2 separate regions of the Homo sapiens genome follow, and region 1 is linked to region 2. Evidence: promoter capture Hi-C in 16 types of primary human blood cells and fetal thymus (Javierre and others, 2016). All regions are on one chromosome and are shown on one strand. The core of a region is centred on a gene start or on the middle of the fragment in contact, and the rest is flanking DNA. Distances in the headings are between cores, read along the strand shown. Region 1 overlaps TTL (tubulin tyrosine ligase). Region 2 holds the start of ZC3H8 (zinc finger CCCH-type containing 8).

The links. Contacts are between HindIII fragments. The CHiCAGO score rates a contact against its expected background, and 5 or more counts as called.
Region 1: a fragment that was not itself captured here is called in contact with the fragment with the promoter of ZC3H8 in region 2 in 1 of 17 cell types (erythroblasts); the score reaches 5.1 in erythroblasts.

The regions. Positions count from the first base shown.
Region 1 is chr2:112,512,202-112,518,048 of GRCh38, forward strand. All of the region lies in intron 5 of TTL (tubulin tyrosine ligase), which reads left to right. Among named protein-coding and RNA genes, the nearest start is that of POLR1B, 27 kb to the right of the region's middle. The HindIII fragment of the contact is 1,945 bases long and covers 2,790-4,734 here.
Region 2 is chr2:112,251,330-112,257,466 of GRCh38, forward strand. It overlaps ZC3H8 (zinc finger CCCH-type containing 8), which reads right to left and starts at 3,713. Exons shown (of 9, transcript NM_032494.3): 1 at 3,579-3,713. The coding sequence starts at 3,652. RefSeq lists a silencer at 3,686-3,895 and a cis regulatory region at 5,446-5,697. The HindIII fragment of the contact is 1,301 bases long and covers 2,594-3,894 here.

The DNA of each region.
Region 1 (5,847 bases), core at 2,512-5,011, 260 kb after region 2:
CTGCCTCAGCCTCCTGAGTAGCTGGGATTACAGGCATGTGCCACCACGCTCAGCTAATTTTGTATTTTTTTTTTTTTTTGAGACAGTGTCTCACTCTGTCGCTCAGGCTGGAGTGCAGTGGCGTGATCTCGGCTCACTGCAAGCTCCGCCTTGCAGGTTCACGCCATTCTCCTGCCTCAGCCTCCCGAATAGCTGGGACTACAGGCGCCCGCCACCATGCCCGGCTAATTTTTTGCATTTTTAGTAGAGACAGGGTTTCACCGTGTTAGCCAGGATGGTCTCGATCTCCTGACCTCGTGATCCGTCCACCTCGGCCTCCCAAAGTGCTGGGATTTCGGGCATGAGCCACCACGCCTGGCCTAGTTTTGTATTTTTAGTAGAGATGAGGTTTCTCCATGTTGGTCAGGCTGGTCTGGAATTTCCGACTTCAGGTGATCCACCCGCCTCAGCCTCCCAAAGTGCTGGGATTACAGGCGTGAGCCATCTCGCCCGGCCCTGTATTTTAATTTTAATCCAATATGATAATCATTGTCATTTAATTGGTGTGTTTATACCACTTAAATGTAATGTAATTATTGTATTGGACTCACATCTGCCATCTTATTATTTGTTGTCTGTCCCCTCCTTTATTGTAGTTTTCGTTTTTGTTTTTTTGTGTCTCTTTTTCCCATCTTCTTTTTAATTATGTGAAATATTTTTAGAGTTTTATTTTAATTTTCCTGTTGAGTATTTGGCGCTATGTCTTCTTTTATTTTTTTTTAGTGCTTTTTTTTTTAGTGCTTGCTCTAGGAATTACAGTATACATATCAATTATTTCACAGCCTTCTTAGAGTTAATAGTTTACCACTTCAAATAAAATGCAAAAACCTTATAACATAGTTCACTAACTCTTGCCCTCTGTTATAGTTATCATAAGTATATATCTACACATTGAAATCTCTACCACATAATGTTATTATTTTTGCTATCAACAGTTTTATATATATATTTGCACAGGTATGATAGATTATCAGGTTGGATTATTTTTAAACTATAAAACCAAACTCTATACTGTCTATAAGAAATCCACTTTATAAAAGGAGAAAAATATTCTTTTATATTTACCCAGATACTACTTTTGTTTTTCCTTCAGTTGCGAAGTTCTGAGATTCTCTCTGGTATCATTTCCCTTCAGACTTAAGCATTTCTTTTAGAGTTTTTATATTTACCCATATACTTCCTTAAGTTTTAAAGTTCTGACTCTCTCTCTTATGCATTTTTTTAGAACAGTTTTGCTGCTGATAAATCCTCTTAGTTTTCTGTCATCTGAGAATGTGTTTATTTCACCATCTTCCTGAAGGGTATTTTCACTGGATTTATACAAATATACATATAAATATTTATACAAGTATAAATATTTATACAAGTATAAGTATAAATATTTATACAAGTATGAATATTTATACAAGTATAAATATAAATATACAAATAATATTAAGCAAAAAAATGCAAAAATACAAGCTATATAGAAGATGCATACAAATTTATTTCACTTACATAAGTTAAACAAGTAAAATTAAATAATGTTTTATTTAGCTGAATACACATGTATGGTAAAAATGTAAAGCAAAATGAAGAAGTGATAAACATACAATTCAAAATAGTGGTTATTCATATCCCTAGAAGGAAGGCAGAAGGGACACAGGGAAGAGGCTTAAAGATAGTGGATGGTGGGTACATGGGGAATAATTAATATTACATATATTTTAAACTCACAAGACAGCATTCCTATGATTATAGATAGTTAATATTCATTTAGAGTTCCCCACATTTTGACCATTTATGTTGTTTCTCTTCCTTTCCTGCATTTCCTTGCTTTTATCTAGGATTATTTTCCTTATTGTTAAGAAACTCATTTTTAGGCCAGGCGCGGCACCTCACACCTGTAATCCCAATACTTTGGGAGGCCGAGGTGGGCCGATCACTTGAGGTCAGGAGTTCAAGACCAGCCTGATACATGCTGAAACCCCATCTCTACCAAAATATGCAAAATTAGCTGGGCATGGTGGTGCACACCTGTGGTCGCAGCTACTCGGGAGGCTGAGGTGGGAGAATAGCTTGAACCTGGGGGGTGGAAGTTGCAGTGAGCCAAAATTGTGCTGCTGCACTCCAGCCTGGGTGACAGAGCAAGACTCTGTTTCAAAAAAAAAAAAACTAATTTTTAGTAGTTTTTAAGTAAAGTCTGCTGTGATAAATTAGTTATTATTTGTCTGAAAATATATTTTGTCTTTTTGTTTTTAAGGACATTTGCTCTGGACATAGATTTCTAGATAAGCAGTTAATTTCTTTTCCTACTCTGAAGGTTGCATACCATTGTATTCTGGCTTCCATCTTTTCTGCTGAGAAGTCAGGTGAAATCTTAGTATTGCTCTTAATGTATCTCTTCTCTATTTTTGAGATTCCTTTACATTGGTTTTTATAAATTTTACTATGAGATGTGTGTAGTTTTCTTTGTACATATTCCTGCATTTGGGTTCATAGTGCTTCTTGCACCGTGGCTTGATATCTTTTACCAGTTTTGGAATATTCATGGACATTATACTTTCAGTTGTGTCTTTTGATCCATTCTCCTCTTCTTCTAGGTCTCTAATTACATGATTGTTAATGCTTTTCACTGTTTCTCACACTTTTATGGCATTTTTGTATCATTTTATCTCCCCATGGTTGTACTCATTCTTTTCGTCTGACATCTTTGTTTGCTAATCCTTTCTTTATCTATTAAAACCTGTTAACAATTTTTACAAGGTAAAAGCTTTTAAAAGCTGCTGTTAAACTCACCTATTGAGTTCTTGATTTTAGTTAGCGTGCTTTTTAGTTCTGAAATTTATATTTGTTTCTTTTTTTCATATTATAGTTGTCTTATGAAATTCTCCCACTTGCCTCATATTTTCTTGAAGATAATGGCAATTCTTTAACATCCTTATCTGATAACTCCAAAATCTAGATTACCCATGGCAGAGTAATCCAGAGTATGCCCTGTGTATGGGCTGCATATGGCCTGTAGCTTGTTTTTGTAAGGTCTGTGGGCAAAGAATGTTTTTTATATATTAAAGATTGTAAAAATGAGAATATGCAACAGAGGTGGTACATATCCTGTAAAACCTAATATATTTACTGTCTGGCCCTTTATAGAAAAAGTTTGTCAGCTCCTGACTTTTAGGTCTGTTTCTATTGTCTCTTTTTTCTCTTGGTCTTATTTCTAAATATGCCTGGAAGTAGTATTTTAGCATTAGTGTTCACTTACTACAGTTTACTAAGTCTAGTAAAGATTTTTTAAATGAGGTGTAACATCCACAAAGTGTACAGTCTGGTGAGTTTTCAGTTATGCATGTACTCACCTAGCTGTGATATACATAAAAATATAAAACATTTACAGCATCCCAGAAGACTCCTTTGAACTCCCTCAAAACATGTATTCCCTGCCAGGCCAGGTGCGACGGCTCACGCCTGTAATCCCAGCACTTTGGGAGGCCGAGGCAGGCAGATCACGAGGTCAGGAGATTGAGATCATCCTGGCTAACACGGTGAAACCTCGTCTCTACTAAGAAATACAAAAATTAGCCAGGCGTGGTGGTGGGCACCTGTAGTCCCAGTTACTCAGGAGGCTGAGGAAGGAGATTCGCTTGAACCCCGGAGGTGGAGCTTGCAGTGACCCAAGATCACACCACTGCACTCCAGCCTGGGCGACACAGCGAGACTCCATCTCAGAATAAATAAATAAATAAATAAATAAATAAATAAATAAATAAATAAATAAATGCCCTGCCAAAGACAGCCACTTTTCTGACTTTTATCACCTTAGATTCATTTTGCTTGTTCTTAAACTTTATGTAAATGGAATTATACCATATTTCCTGTTTTATGTTCAGCTTTTCCCAGTGTTACATCTGTGGCATTCATCCATGTTATTGCACATAACAGTAGTTTATCCTTTTTATTACTGTGTAATATTCCATTGTATAAGTATTTCAGTTTATTCCTTCTGTAGTTGGTAGACATCTGGGTTTTATCTCTTATATTTTAGAACTATAATCTATCTGAAGTTGTTATATATCAAGTTTCATGTCTTTCCACAAGGATATCCCATTGACCCAGGGCCACTTGTCCTTTCCCCGCTGCATTGTGGTGTGTCTTTGTTACAAATCAGGTGGCTGGCTGGGCACAGTGGCTCACACCTGTAATCCTAGCACTTTGGGAGACCAAGGTGGGTGGATCACAAGGTCAGGAGTTCAAGACCAGCCTGGCCAATATGGTGAAACCCTGTCTCTACTAAAAATACAAAAATTAGCCAGGCATGGTGGCATATGCCTGTAATCCCAGCTACTTGGGAGGCTGAGGCAGGAGAATTGCTTGAACCCGGGAGGTGGAGGTTGCAGTGAGCCAAGATCGCATCACTGCACTCCAGCCTGAGCAACAGAGCAAGATTCCATCTCAGAAATCAATCAATCAATCAGGTGGCCATTTATGTGAGCGTCTGTTCTAGGATCTCCATTCTGTCCCATTGTTCTACCATCCACCATGTCAATGCTACCCTGTCACAATGACTGAGACTTTTTCCTTACTGTATTCTCACGTAGAGCCCAGTAGAATAATTACAGGGCTTGGAGTCCCATTTCTTCAGGGAATATAGGTGGTTGGAATTCTGACACCAGATAAATCAAATATGCTGGAAAAAGAATTCCTATTTTAGGCAAAAGCTTTATTGGAAGTTTGCGGCATCCTTTCCGCATTGTTCATTGCTGTTCAGAGTGTTGCTGCTGTGGTGCTATAAATGCTCCCAGCAGCTCTCAGGTTTTCTTTCCTTCCAGCTAGCCTCCCCCTAACTTCCCACTCCAGCCAAAAAAAGATGCACTGTATAAGTCTCTGATGAGGGATAAAAATCCTTTAAAGTGTATTATTAATCTTGAGCTTTCAGCAAAAAAAAAAAAAAAAAAAAAAATTAGTTTTGATTTGCTTCTGATTCTCAGGTTTTTCTTTATGTTGGAATGTAATACTTCTTTCAATTTTATTTTATCTTATTTTTTTGAGACAGAGTCTTGGTCTGTCACCCAGGCTGAAGTGCAGTGGCGCAATCTCATCTCATTTCAACCTCTGCCTCCCGGGTTTGAGCGATTCTCCTGCCTTAGCCTCCCGACTAGCTGGGATTACAGGCATGTGCCACCACTCAGTGCTAATTTTTTGTATGTTTAGTAGAGATGAGGTTTCACCATGTTGGCTAGGCTGGTTTTGAACTCCTGACCTCAAGTGATCTGCCTCCCTCAGCCTCCCAAAGTGCTGGGATTACGGGCATGAGCCACTGTGTCCAGCCCCCATTTTATATTTTAGTATTTTTTTCTCTCTCTCTTTTTTACCATAAGCATCTGTTAAACTTTTAAATCTTCCTTAATTATAATATTTTAAAGAATATTCTAATTAAAACAGGCTAAGTACGGTGGCTCATGCCTCTAATCCCAGCACTTTGGGAGGCTGAGGCAGGCAGATCACTTCAGCCCAGGAGTTCAAGACCAGCCTGGGCAACATGACAAACCTCTGTCTCCAAAAGTTACAAAAAAAATTAGCAGGGTGTGGTGGTGCATGCTTGTAGTCCCAGCTACTTCGGAAGCCTGAATTGGGAGGATCGCTTGAGCTCGGGGAGGTCAAGGCTGACTGCAGTGAGCCATGATTGGGCCCCTGCACTCCAGCCTGGGCGACAGAGTGAGACCCTGTCTCCTGCTTTTTTTTTGGAGATAGGGTCTCGCTCTGTTTCCCAGGCTGGAGTGCAGTGACATGATCTCGGCTCACTGCAGCCTTGGCTCATGCAACCTCTGC
Region 2 (6,137 bases), core at 2,463-4,962:
AACAGTTTACACTGACTCAGAGCTCCAGAGTTACATCCATCAGATGAGGTACTAAGTTGTGAGCCTGCTACAGAAGCCACCATTACAAGAACCAAAAACCCCAATACTTGTGAATCTTTATAGCTATAGTTTCCAGTAATGAATCATCTCATGGAGTAGGAGGCAACCTCTCCTTAGGCAGAGGAATAATGACAATAATGACCTCAATAGCAGTAACAGCATCAGCCAACACTTGAATGATGCTTACTCTGTGCCAGATGCTGCTCCATACACGTAACACTTACCACAAACAACAGTGTTATGACATACATACTAAAAGCCCATTTTACGGATGAGAAAACAATCACAGAAAGGATATGTAACTTGTCACAGAGCTAATACATGGTGGAGCTGAGATCTGAGCCCCAGCAGGCAGGCAAAGCTCCCAAGTATGTGCCCTACAATCACACTGTTATTCAACACTGCCCATTCTAAATAGATGTCTACTTTCACTGTGAAGGTCTACAATACTCAGCACCCATATTAGACCTATGAGCAGGATAGGACAGAGGTGACCACCTCTTCTCTGTAAAACATGTTCTTTACTTAGCTTCAGAGATAGTGGGCTCTTCTAGTTTCTTCTTTCCACAGCTACTACTTCTCAGTCTCCTTTGTTGGTTCCTTATCTTCACAACTTTCAAAGTCAGTTCTCACCTCTTCTCTTCTTTGTCTATATTCTCATCTATATTCTCATTCCAGGCTATCCCTTTCTATATCATCACTATGAATATCATCTGTATGTAGTTGATTTCAATATCCAAGTCTCTAACCCAAACCCCTCTTCTTAAATCCAAACAGAGCTAACTTCCTAGTCAACATAACCACCTGAACATCTACTAGACATATGTAATCTTAAAACATCCAACACTGAACTCTTGCTCTTCTCTCTGAAGCCTAATCCTTCTTGCTATCTAAAACGGCAACACCATCCCTCTCAAGATCCCTACCAAAACCTTAAAGTCAATCTTGATTCCTCTCTCACATCCCCATCCAATCTCTGAGGAAATCCAGTTTATTCTATCTTCAACATACCCACGTTTGACCACTTCTTGCCACTAATACAACAATCCAAGCTGCTCTGGCACCCCTACATTCTACTCTCAACACAACTAGAATGACCCTGCTAAAATATTTCAAATGTCACTCTGCTGAAAAACCCTCCAATGGTCTCTTGTCTCATTCAGAGTAAAAGCCAAAGTCCTTATTTCGGCACCTACCAGTTCCTCCATGATTGGGCTCCCCTAACCCTACCCCAGTACCTCGCAGACTTCCAAGTCCCTCTTACTCCACCCCAGCTGTCCTGGCCACTTTGCTCCCCTAACCCAATCACACCAAGCTCACTCCGTCTGAGGACCTTTATACAGACTCCTCTCCACCCCTCTGGACTATGAAACCCCCTCACCTCCTTCAGGTCCCTACACAGATTTTTAAAACTTACCAATGTTATCAGTGAGGCTTTCCTTATCTACCTTCTTAAAATATCTACACCTCCCAGCCGGGCGCGGTGGCTCACGCCTGTAATCCCAGCACTTTGGGAGGCCAAGGCGGGCAGATCACAAGGTCAGGAGATCGAGACCATCCTGTCTAACATGGTGAAACCCCGTCTCTACTAAAAATACGTCGGGCGTGGTGGCAGGCGCCTGTAGTCCCAGCTACTCGGGAGGCTGAGGCAGGAGAATGGTGTGAACCCGGAAGGCAGAGCTTGCAGTGAGCCGAGATCGCGCCACTGCACCCCAGCCTGGGCGACAGAGCCAGACTCTGCTCAAAAAAATAAAAAAAAAACCCACAAAACTACTCCCTCCCTACCATCCCACCAGTGCTTATTTTCCCCTTACCCTTCATTCATTTTCTCAGGGCATTTAGTACCACCTAAAATATGATATATTTATGTATGTCTCCCCCTTCCCCTAATAATGTAAATTCATTAGTACAGAAATTTTCATCTCTTCTTCATTTACTACTATATCCCCAAGGCCGTAGCAGGTGCTCAATACGATTTTTTGAATGAATGAGAAGTATTCCCATCACAAATTACTCGGAAAAAAAACCAGAAACCATATGAGAAAAGACTGATTCATCTGACTGCATAAAACCAAACCACAACATCCCCATTCCTTTTTACATTGAAAAATAATGCCATAGGCAAAGACAAATGACAATTGGGAGTAAAGTATTCGCAGATAAGAGATCCTAGAATGTGAAAAAGACCAAAAAGGAGAAAAATGGGCAAATAATATGGACAGCTCACCATACTTCCATACCATCCTTCACCCATCATTTTGGCAAAATTCCAAGTGTCTTTTATGTATTGCAGTCAAGTTTTGGGGAATGGAGCTTGTGTCCAACACACTTTGAAACTGATAGCTGCTGTTCGGATTTTTAAATGTTGCTATTATCTTTTTTTTGTGTGATGAATTCTTATGTATTTTATAACATATCAATTAGTACCAGTTATTTTTCTTAGTAAATTATATCATCTGCAAGTAATTAGTGTATCTGTCTCTTTCCAATATTTATAGGGCTTATTTTAAAATTTTAGTCATTTTGCATGAGAAGCTTGGTGATAAAATCATGGATCCTGGACATAGCTCTTCCACTTACACTGTGCAATCTCGGCAGGTTATTTAGCCTCTCCGTGCCTCAGTTTTCCCATCTGTAAAACGAGGACGGCATCATCTTCTCTTTAAGTTTGTTTTGAGGATTAAGTGATTTATTTCATGTAAAGCACAAGGTAAAGCTCTGGATGATCAGTTAAGGTAAAATTTGAGATAGAGTGAACAGCTGACCAATATCGAATGGTAAAATCAATCACAACTGGAAATATATCTCAGTTGAGGGAAATAAAAGACGTAGGTTTAAGAACAAAGATGGTGGTTTTTAGCATTTCAAATCACTAGACACTGCTCCAAAAATATAATCTACAAATTAGGGCCATCTGACCAAGAGTCTCACTTGCTTTTCCAACCTAATGGAAATATTAAGTCCAAATGACGTCTGTTGCTTTATTGTGGTCTTTAGGGTCTTTCCATGCAAATCAGTGGACTAATGGCAGAGTATTGCCTATTCTTTACCTTTCAATAAACTTGTGGTTTCATCCTTTCTACAGAAAAGAACCTAGGAGGTGTCAGTGAAAAAGGTCACATCAGTGTCCTCTGGGAGTTTACGGTCTCGTGGAAACAGGCAACAACGGTAAAGACAGACGCTACGGGACCACAGAGGCGGGCTCCTCACCCGCTGCTGTGCAGAGAAAGGGGCGCATCCCGGAGCCTTCTCGCCTCCACCCCGCTCCCCCGCCCAGGCTCTCGACAGCCCCGGCCCTGACGGCCTAAGCCTGAGCCCCGCGTTCAGCTTCTGCTCCCACCCGGACCCCGCACGACCTCTATAGGTCAGACGGTGGCGCCCGGCCGGCCCACGTGCTCCCCACGGGCCCTCGCGACGCGGCCCGGACGTGGCCCCGGACTGCCTCCAATCCAGAAGAAACTAAGAGGCGGAGTCCCGCTGAGCCCCTGCATTCAAAAGATGAAAAGATATGGGATCACCTTTCGTCAGAGTCCGTGGCCGTTTTGCCGAGGGCCGGGTTGGGGGGTTTTGAGAAAAGATTCTCAAAATCCATGACCCAGACAGGTCCTCCCTTTCGCGAGCCGGGAAGCTACAGAGTAACAACCCGAGAGAGTGACAACCCGGACGCGACGAGACGGACCCAGAGCCGCGCCAGGGCCACAGGCTCCGCCCCGCGCAGCCTCACCTGCCCCGCGCATGCGCTGCACCGCCCTCCGCGACTCTGGGCAGGCCGGGTCTCTCCCTGCCTCCTTCGCCTCGGCTCTGCGCAGGCGCCGCCGTGGTTGCCCTTCTGTAAGCTTTTTCGTCCTTTACCTCAGATAGTAGAATTTTGTTTATTTTATTTATTTATTTGTTTGTTTGTTTGTTTATTTAAAGACAGAGTCAAGCTCTGTCGTCCAGGCTGGACTGCAGTGGCGTGATCTCGGCTCACTGCAACCTCCGCCTCCCGGGTTCAAGCAAGTCTCCTGCTTCAGCCTCCTGAGTAGCTGGGACTACAGGTGTCTGCCACCACGCCCAGCTAATTTTTGTATTTTTAGTAGAGACGGGATTTCACCATGTTGGCCAGGATGGTCTCGATCTCTTGATCTCGTGATCCGCCCGCCCCAGCCTTCCAAAGTGCTGGGATTACAGGCGTGAGCCACCGCGCCCGGCCCCAGCCCAGAATTTTTAAAATTAGTTGTTAGGATTCTGCTTTCACCTTGGTGAAAACTCTTCCATCAAAATCACAGTATTTCTAAGGGATGGTAGTAACAGCTAACATTTATCTGAGCACTCCACTACTATTCCTTAGAAATAGCGTTTCACATGTTAGCTAACTTAATCCTCACAACAGCCCTGTAAAAGATGTTCTATTACCATTCACAGTTTTGAAATGAATAAACAGATGTGTAGTCAGGTAATGTAACTTGTAGGGTCTCTACAATTGAATGGGAATTAAAATGAATACACAAGTAACCTCAAGACAGAAAAGTCCGTTAAAAAGTACCAAATACTAAGAGAATTCAGAAGAGGGAAAAAATTGCATCCAGTTGGGAAGGCTTCTTGAGAAGGGAGTATTTGAGCTGGGTCTTGAGATATTTCCATAGGAAAAGAGGAAGTGGGCATTCCAAGTAGAGAGAATTGTATGAAGGCAGGAAAATAGAGCATGCTGTTGCAGAACAGGAAATTGCTCAGTTTTGCTCAATGTAATGCCATTTAAGGGACCTGTAGAAAGGAAGGCTCAAACCCTAGGTTGGGCCAGTGATAGAGAACCTGACTTGCTTCTGTAAGTGAAGGGAGTGTTTGATTCTTGGCATGAATCAGGATCCCTTTACCGATTAGTGAAGGGAACTATTTGAAGCCAGACATCTTCCCCAGGGAAATTCTACTTTCCCATGTTGTTTATATTGTAGGCCATCACCTATGGAACATGAATCATTACTAAAAATTCAGAGAAAAAATTGAATTAAGGAGATAAAAACTAGAATTACCCCCTCTTTAGCAGGAAGCATTATTATAGAACCCAAATTGTTACCATACACACTTTTTTATATAAAATATCCAACATACAGCAAAAGATAACCAGACACAAATGAAAATTAGATTGGTAGGTAAAAAGCAGCTAAAACATCTGACCTGCAAAGGCATCAGACACTAGCATTTTCAGACAAAGACTATATAAAAGGCTACATATGTTTGTGTTAGATTGATGCCAAAAAAGGCCCCAATTTCTCCAACCTTTCCTGTATCCATGTCCTTTGCAATGTGACTTTGCAGCTCCTCCCATAAAGAGGTAGGATCTATTTCACCTCCTCTTTAATCTGAGTTGATTTTGCCTGATAGAATGACTTGTCTTAGCTAGTAGAATGCAGAAGTGGCCTGCCAATACCAAGCCAAGGCCCCAAGAGGCTTTGTATGTGTCTGCTGTCTCTTATATGCCTGCCTTCTTCAGGACAATAAACTCAGGCTACCCTGCTGACGATAAGGGAGAGGCATGTAGAAGATAAGGCTAATGGAGGACAGCGAAAACACCCAGTCAACAGCTAGCAAAACCCTAAAAGCAAAGCCTCCTAGGCAACATACAGCTGAGCACACACATGATGGAGTCCTGCAGAGAACCAAAGACTCTCAGATGATCCCAGTCCAAATTACTAACCCACATAAATAAATGGTCCTTGTTTTAAGCCACTAAGTTTTTAAGTAGTTTACTACATAGTAATATCTAACTAATAAAAAAGAAACTATAAAAAGTGTCATAGAGAAATTGGGGAGAAGTAACCAAGTAGAACTTCTAGAAATAAAAAATATAATACTGAAATTTTTAAAAATCAGTGGATGGGGCTGGGCGTGGTGGCTCACACCTGTAATCCCAGCACTTTGGGAGGCCAAGGCCGGTGGATCACAAGGTCAAGAGATAGAGACCATCCTGCCAAAATGGTGAAACCCTGTCTCTAATAAAAATACAAAAATTAGCTGGGCGGGTTGGCGCACGCCTGTAGTCCCAGCTACTCAGGAGTCTGAGGCAGGAGAATCGCTTGAACCCGGGAGGCGGAGGTTGC